Regions from separate parts of the Homo sapiens genome. Here region 2 is linked to region 1. The links are contacts of gene promoters, found by promoter capture Hi-C in human tissues and cell types (Jung and others, 2019). All regions are on one chromosome and are shown on one strand. Each heading gives the region's core, a stretch centred on a gene start or on the middle of the fragment in contact. The rest is flanking DNA. Distances are from core to core; before and after follow the strand shown. Region 1 holds the start of TTC34 (tetratricopeptide repeat domain 34). Region 2 has its middle 14 kb from the start of ACTRT2.

Evidence for each region. Contacts are between HindIII fragments. The study calls those that stand out against the background at their distance.
Region 2: a fragment that was not itself captured here is called in contact with the fragment with the promoter of TTC34 in region 1 in 2 of the 25 tissues and cell types used here (H1 embryonic stem cells and dorsolateral prefrontal cortex).

What each region holds. Positions count from the first base shown.
Region 1 is chr1:2,799,602-2,803,574 of GRCh38, reverse strand. It overlaps TTC34 (tetratricopeptide repeat domain 34), which reads left to right and starts at 1,882. Exons shown (of 9, transcript NM_001242672.3): 1 at 1,882-1,998; 2 at 2,707-3,531. The coding sequence starts at 2,748. The HindIII fragment of the contact is 12,605 bases long and covers 1-3,973 here.
Region 2 is chr1:3,005,534-3,009,506 of GRCh38, reverse strand. No RefSeq gene overlaps it. Among named protein-coding and RNA genes, the nearest start is that of ACTRT2, 14 kb to the left of the region's middle. The HindIII fragment of the contact is 4,575 bases long and covers 1-3,973 here.

The DNA of each region.
Region 1 (3,973 bases), core at 633-3,132:
TCACCCTCAAACCCTGTTTCCCCCTGAAGCGTCAGATGAGCCAGCTCCCTACGCTGTCAGTGCGCTAATGGTCTTGAATGGGAAAGTGTGCAGAGGGCAAATGAGCAGTATCCCCCGCCCCCCGCTAGCCTCAAGTTGGAAATGTTGGAAATCCTTTTGACTCATAAACTAAAGCAGCACAAACCCGAACACGAGACCCTGAGACTACCAGGCACCGGCCTCGGCCTCCCTGTCCGGCTCAGCCGCCCACTTTTGTCTGTGGCAGAATCAGAGACGAGAGTGCGGATTGGGAGGTGGCGTGGAGGCGGCCCTGGGATTACCTGCATCCAGGTGTGCTGCTCTCAGGCAGGGGCTGTGATCATAGCTCGGGACCCTCCGAGACTTCCAGGCTCATCTGGCCAGTGCCTGTGGGCCCCGGGCAGGGCACTGTGCACAGGGCAGAGACGCAGGGGGCCCATCGGCACTGCTGTGATGGCAACTGTCGCGCAGACCTGCCACCTCTGTGCCCCGGGCTCTTCTACAGCCCTGGTGACAGCCCCACTCCATTACAGCTCTCGCCTAATTAGGGCAATTAAAATGAAAGTAATCAACACCGAGTAATGGGCAATCTCTTAATAAACTGCCCCCACTGCATTACCCGCACAGGCCTTGGGCCCTGGTGAATGTCATGGAGCTGAAGAACTGGGCCAGGCAGCCCCAGCCCTGCTGACCCCCCTGCCCTGCACCCTCAGACTGACCCTGACTGCTCTGCCCACGCTGCAGGGGCTCCACACCCTCCCCAAAGGGCCTGCGGGGCATGTCTCAGGAGACCCAGACATCGAGGGGATCAGGGATGCCACCCCCCACTCCCAAGATCTCCTCCCCCAAAGGGCACCCCCAACCCTGCTTCCCTGAGCCCCACAGAGGAGCCAGCATTGGCCTGGTGTCCGGGCACCTTGGCATCCTGAATTGGGAGGGACCTCTCTCAGGGACGCACCACCCCCATTCCCCCCACTCATGCCTGCCCTCCAGGGCAGCTGCCGGTGGTGGGGTCTCAGCTTCAGGGACCTGAGCCTGCCTCCAGCCACCCCACTCAGTCTTTCTGCTCCTGCGGCATGGGCTGACGGTGGCCACGGGCTGAAGGTGATGTTTCCTAAAATAGTCCCTATGCTGCCACCCCTTCCTCAGCAACAATCAGGGTCCCTGGGCAGTAGGCTCAGGTCATGGCTCCCAGAGCTGCCTCTGGGCCTCAACCCTGTGATGGGGGAGGGGTGTGCCCTCGGCTAATGTGCCCTGCCCTCCCCAGGGCACAGCTGGCTCAGCTGGTGCAGGCAGGACAGGGCTGCCTAAGCCTCTCAGAGGGAGGACGGCCAAGGGAAATGGGCTGGCTGTGCACGGAAGGTCCAGTCCCAGCTGCCGGCACAGGGAACAGCCTGTGGGGAGGTGCCCCAGGACCGGGTGACAGGGCCCTGCCAGAAGAGGAGTGAGGCTGGGCGGTGAGGGGCCCGCATAGCAGCCCAGGCGGAGTTCTGGGGGACAAACCCAGAGCCTGAGTGCACTGGGTGGGCAGGCGGCCCCCACCTGCCTCCAGGAAGCGCCCTCCTCATCTATGTGGAGAGGAGGCTGGGGGCACCCTGGCAGAGCAGGCAGGGTGGAGGCTGGCCCCGGCTATGGGGGGCTGTACCCCACAGGCCCCTTCTCCCCCAACACCCCCATGAACTCAGGGTTCTCTGCTCTGAGGCAGCCCATTGGAGCCTGGCTGGGGCAGTGTGGGTGGGACCTCGGCCTGGTAGCCTCTGGCCACAGCGGGGCGCTGCAGGACAGCCAGGAGACCCAAGGGTGTTGACACTCTCCCGGGAAACCGCAGGCTGTGCCTTCCCCAACCCACACGGGGCGGTCATAGGAGCCCCACCCAGGCCTGGGCCCTCCAGCCAGCCACATCCCTCTGTCCCCCACCACCCACGAGGGAATCTGGGTCCCCAGGGCACAGCCGGCTCAGCCTCCAAGCTGCAGACGAGTGTGAGTGTGTCTGTGTGTGTCTGAGAGCGGATGCTGGGGGCTGCCTGTTTGATGAGGGAAGAAAGGGCTGTGCGGAGCTAGTTCGTCAGGTCAAGTAGCTTGGGGACAGGGAATAGGGGAGTACCAGGGGCTGTCCCTGGAACCTCAACCTCAAAACTGAACCCCCCCACCCATGGGCTGGGGTGGCTCCCCCGACCCAAGGGCCTGGCAGGTGCTCTCGGCGCCCCCCTCGAATGGCCCAGGTGTGAGAGGGTGGGCAGGGGTGTGGTCCTGCGTCCCACTGAGAGGGCTGCCTGGACTGACGGGGGGTGTGCCTTCCTGAGGGGCTCAGGGTTGGGAGGGGCAGAGGGTGGGTCCGGGGTTCCTATTGCTGGGCCCTGACACCTCGGGCCACCGTAACCCTCCCGACATGGACACTCAGGGGTCAGATGTTCTTAGAGGGAACTGAGCTGGGGGAGGCCACTGTCCCATTCTGCAAGGCACGAAACTGAGGCCCCAGAGGTGAACAGTGGGCTGGAAGTTGGCCTGGGACACCTGGTAGGCCCCACCCCACCAGCCCAGGATCCCCCCAGTTTTCACCCAGTGGGGTCTGCACTGACCGTGGGGTCAATGGGAAGGGGTGGAGGTGGCTTGAGGCTGGGCACGGGTGGCCACAGGGCAGGAGAACTGGCCGCCCTCTGTGGACTCACCATGCTCCCCCACCCCCAGGTACTCTGAGGACCAGACATGGGCCCGTCGGGGTCCCAGACATGATGTCAGCCCAGGAGCTCGTGGCCTGCCTCTGCCGGGAGGGGGAGCAGCATCTGGCGCTGGGGGAGCTGCCCCTGGCCACCGCCTTCTACCTGGCTGCATTCAGCTGCCACGCCCCCTCAGCCCTGCAGAGTGTGCGCACTGCCCTGGCCCAGGCTCGGGGGGCGGCGGTGGTGGCCACCCTGGAGTCCTGGTGCCGCGGGGACAGCCAGATCCCCGCCATCCACTGGGACGGCATGGCAGTGGTCTCCCTGACAGGGTCGCTGGCCTCTGCCTTCCTCGGCGCCCTCTGCCCGGACCACCCCGCCGCCATCCTGCACCTGCTGGCAGGTCTGCTGGCCCGCGGGCGTCACGAAGAAGTGGTGCAACGCTGCAGCGCCCTGCTGGACTCTCATGCACAGCAAGTCCTGGAGCTGCGGCTGACCCGCGCCCTCGCCTGGGTCCTGTCCGGGGTGCAGGCAGCGGATGGTGTGGCCGCCTATCTCCAGGCCTTCGCCTCCAGCGCCGACCGGACGGTAGCTTTCATTCGCACCCACCAGCGGCCCCACCTCCCCGCGCTGCTCAGTGCCCTCCAGGACTACCTCTCGGGGCACCCGGAGGCTGGGCACAGTGCCGGCCAGCAGGAGACCGGTGGCCAGCGACTCCTGGCGGCTCTGGACCCCAGGGGCACCCGGAGTGACACCCTGTCACCTGAAGCTCTGCTCCACAGCGGCAGGTTTGAGGACTGCCTGGCAGCATGCAGCCGGGCCCTCGAGGCCCATCCCACCGGCAGCGAACCCCAAGGTAGGAGGACGGCATGGCCCCTGCAGAGCCAGGGTGAAAGCTGCCCCCGCCACTCCCTCCCCACATGGTTATGTCCTGCCATGATGGGGTGAGGCTGTGCTGGGGCTGGGGTGCCTCAGTGACAAGAAAGTCAGGCCCTGCCCCTTTGGAGCACCCAAAGACACAAACAAAATGCATGCTTTAAGAAATGGGATGGGCAAGGTACTGCTCCAGCCGGTGATCAGGGAAAGCTTCTCAGGAGAGGAATCATTTAGGCTGAGAGTGAGGGTTCCAGGCAGCAGAAGCAAATGTGCCAAGTCCTTAGGGGAGCAAGAGCTTGGGCTCCCCCTGCCACTGAGGGGGCCAGGGCGACTGTCGGAGGGAAGGGGAAAACGAATGGGAGACTGAAGATGGCAGCTGTGGGGCTAGATCCTCCTGGCCTCCCAAGGCCCTTGGATGTTAC
Region 2 (3,973 bases), core at 676-3,175, 210 kb before region 1:
CCAGCTTCTGAGGATCTGCCATTTCCAGGGACCATGCTTCCACCTCTAGAGGGGGAGGCAGCTCCAGCAGGGCCACATGTGGGGACTCTGTGACAGATGAGGTGGCCATTCTGTTGGAGGGGATGGAAGGACACTGTTCCGAGGAAGAGCCACATGTGAGCCAAGCTGAGCCACTCCAAGGAGCCGGCATTGCCTGTTGGAGCTTTGCATCATCCCCTAACTTTTTGCCCAGGGGCGCCATGCTCTGGGCCTCCTATGTGAGCAGTCAATAATTACCTTTCTCTTGAGGGATTCTGCCAATAACAGCTGTGGAGCAGCTGGTCCAGCTCCGTCATCCCACAGGAGGTGGGCATGGAAGGCTGGGCCAGGACATACCTCCTCCTTCTGAGTCTGCACACTCGGCTCCACGCAGTCACTCAGAGTCCAGGGGATGGGTACCATTGTGTTGTCCATGAGACAGATGTGGGAGGATCCTGCCTCTGCTTAAGTGACACATGTCACTTCTGCTCACACCTCATCAGGACGAGTCACATGGCCAAACCCACCTGTGTAGAAACCAGGAAGTGTGGGCGAGCAGAGAGCCAGCCTGGTGCACAGTCCTGAGCCTGCCCCACATGGGCTTGCCTGATTCCGTGGGACATGTCTATATAGCATATTTCTCCTTGTTCATCTGAAATTCAAATTTAACTGGGTGTCTTAGGCCATTCTTGCATTGCTATAAAGAAATACTCAAGACTGGGTAATTTATAAAGAAAAGAGGTTTAACTCATTCATGGCTCTGCAGACTTTACAGGAAGCATGGTGCTGGCATCTTCTCAGTTTCTGGGAAGACCTCAGGAAGCTTACAATCATGGCAGAGGGCAAAGGGGGAGCAGGCATGGCACATGGTGAAAGCAGGAGAAAGTGAGGGGCTGGAGGGGTGCCACACACTCTGAAATGACCAGATCTCATGTGAACTCAAAGCAAGAGCTCACTCATCACCAAAGGGATGGTCCAAGGCATTCATGAGGGATCCTCCTCCATGACCCAATCACCACCCATCAGGCCCCACCTCCAAGACTGGGGATTACATTTCAACATGAGATTTGGGTGGGGCCTTAAATTTAAACTATGTAAGTCCACCCCTGACCCCTCCACAATCTCATGCCCTTCTCACATTGCAAAATATAATCATGCCTTACAAACAGTCCCCCAAAGTCTTGACTCTAATTTCCGGTGTTAACTGAAAAGTTCAAGTCCCAAGTCCAAACTCTTATCTAGAGATGTTTTTTCCTTCTACCTATTAGTGTGTAAAATCAAAACAAGGTATTTACTTCCAGAATACAATAGAGGCAGAGGAACTGGATAAATGTTCCTATTCCAAAAAGGAGAAAAACTGACCAAAAGAAAGGGATTACAGTCCCCGTGAAAGTTGAAACCCAGAAGGGCAGTCATTAAATCTTAATACTACAAAATAATCTCCTTTGACTCCATGTCCCACATTGAGGACACACTGTGCAAGGGGTGGGCTCTTAAGGCCCTGGGGAGCTCCACCCCTGTGGCTTTGCAAGGTACAACCCCCACAGCTGCTTGCACAGGTCGTTGAGTGTCTGTGGCTTTTCTAGGTGTAGGAGGCAAGCTGTCAGTGGCTCTACCACTCTAGGGTCTGGAAGAGGATGGTTCCCTTCTCACAGCTCCACTAAGTACTGCCCCATTAGAGACTCTGTGTGGCAGCTCCAACCCCAGATTTCCCCTTAGCACTGCCCTAGTAGACGTTCTCTGTGAGGGCTCCACCCCTGCAGCAGGCTTCTGCATGGACATCCAGGCTTTTCCATACATCCTCTGAAATCTAGGCTTCCAAGCCTCAACTCTTGCACTCTGTGCACCTGCAGGCTTAACACCATGTGGAAGGCTTATGGCTTGCACCCTCTGGAGCTGCAGCCTGAGCTATACCTGGGCCCCTTTGAGCCCAGGCTGTACCCAGAGCTGCCAAGATGCAGAAAGCAGTGTCCTGAGGCTGCACAGGGTAGCGGGGCCCTGGGCCTGACCCACAAAATCATTTAGTCCTCATAGGCCTCAGGGCCTGTGATGGGAGTAGAGACCAGGAAGATCTCTGAAATGCCCTCAAGGCCTTTCTCCCATTGTCTTGGATATTAGCACTTGGCTCCTTTTTATTCATGCAAATTTCCCTAGCAAGTGGTTGCTCTGCAGCCTACTTGAATTCTTCTGTTGAAAAAGCTTTTTTTTTTTTTTTTTTGGTTTTTTTATTTGCCACATGGTCAGGCTGAAAATTTTCCAAATTTTTATGCTCTGTTTACCTTTTAAATATAAGTCCCATCTTTAAGTTACTCCTTTGCTTCTGCATCTGAGCATAGGCTGATAGAAGTAGCCAGGCTACATCTCAAGCATTTTACTGCTTAGAAATTTATCCTGCCAGATCCACTAAATCATTACTATGAAGTTCAAACTTCTACAGATCCCTAGGGCAGAACAGAAGGCAGCAACCAAGCTCTTAGCTAAGACATAACGTGTAATCTTTGCTCCATTTCCCAATACGTTTCTCATTTCCATCTGAGACCTTAGCAGCCTAGACTTCAGTGCTCATACTGCTATCAGCATTGTGGTCACAACCATTTTACCAGTCTCTAAGAAGTTCCAAACTTTCTTTCATCTTCCTGTCTTCTTCTGAGCCCTCAAAACTCTTTCAACTTGTCCCCATTACTCAGTTCCAAAGTTGCTTCCACATTTTCTGGTATCTTTATAGCAATACCCAACTCCTGGCACCAATTTTCTATATTAGGCAGGTTTTGCATTGCTATAAAGAAATACCTGAGACCAGATAATTTCTAAAGAAAAGAGGTTTAATTGGCTCATGGTTCTGCAGGATTTACAGGAAGCCTGATGCTGGCATCTGCTTGGCTTCTAAGGAGGCCTCAGGAAGCTTACAGTCATGGTGGAAGGTAAAGGGGGAGTAGGCATGTCACATGACCAGAGCAGGAGCAAGAGACAGAGTATTATGGGGAGAGGTGCCACATGCTCTTAAACAACCAGATCTCATGTGAACTCAGAACAAGAGCTCATTCATCACCCAGGGGATGGCCCAGGCTATTATTGAAAGATCCACCCGGATGATCTAAACACCTCCCACCAGGCCCCACCTCTAAGATTGAGGATTACATTTCAACATGAGATTTGGGCAGGGACATGCATTCAAACTATATCACTGGGCAGCCAGTATTGCTCAGCTTGTCCACCCTACCTATGTGGCCAGACTTCCACTGGTAAATTGCTATCTCTTAAGTATACAGTGATTGGTATGCACAGAGTTGGAGTTTTCCAAATATGGGCCTTTAAATACAGAGAAACATTTGATCAAACTAATCCGAATGGAGTTGTGGCTGCCCCTACCTGCCCAGGGTTGAAGGAAATACTCAAGGAAGTGCTTGGGGAGATGCTGGCTGAGCTGCCCTGCGGGGGTTGTGCTCCACCCCTCTCTGCATCCTTGCCAAAGACAGACAGGGCGCCTTCCAAAAGGGAATTCAACCTAAAAATGGAGGCTGACTCCTTCTCTCACTCCCCTCCCCTGCCCTGCCTGCCCAGACTCCCAAGAGACGGCCGACTGGAAAACGTGTTGGCAGAACCTGGAAACATCCACATTTTACTGTGATTCTCAGGAGAGCCTGGAGGTAGAAATTACTCAGGCACGAGCTTTATCACCCAGTTCCCAAGGTATCAGCGAGATCATTTAGCCAGAAGAGCCCAGCGCAGGGGGAAGGAAGGTGCAGGCCCTGGAGCAGGGGTCTGCCATGCTGTGGGGAGAGCAGTGGTTCTCATTTGCTCAGCAAAACAGGAGATGAAGCACAAAATCCCCTTCCCTGGCTGTTTCCTCCAGTGGCTGAATCTTTGAGGATGCTGCTTAAATGATTTAGTATGGATGAGGCCAAGGTCCCCACCTTGTCCCAGGTGCCCCTGCACCCTCATAGCTCCCTCCCCA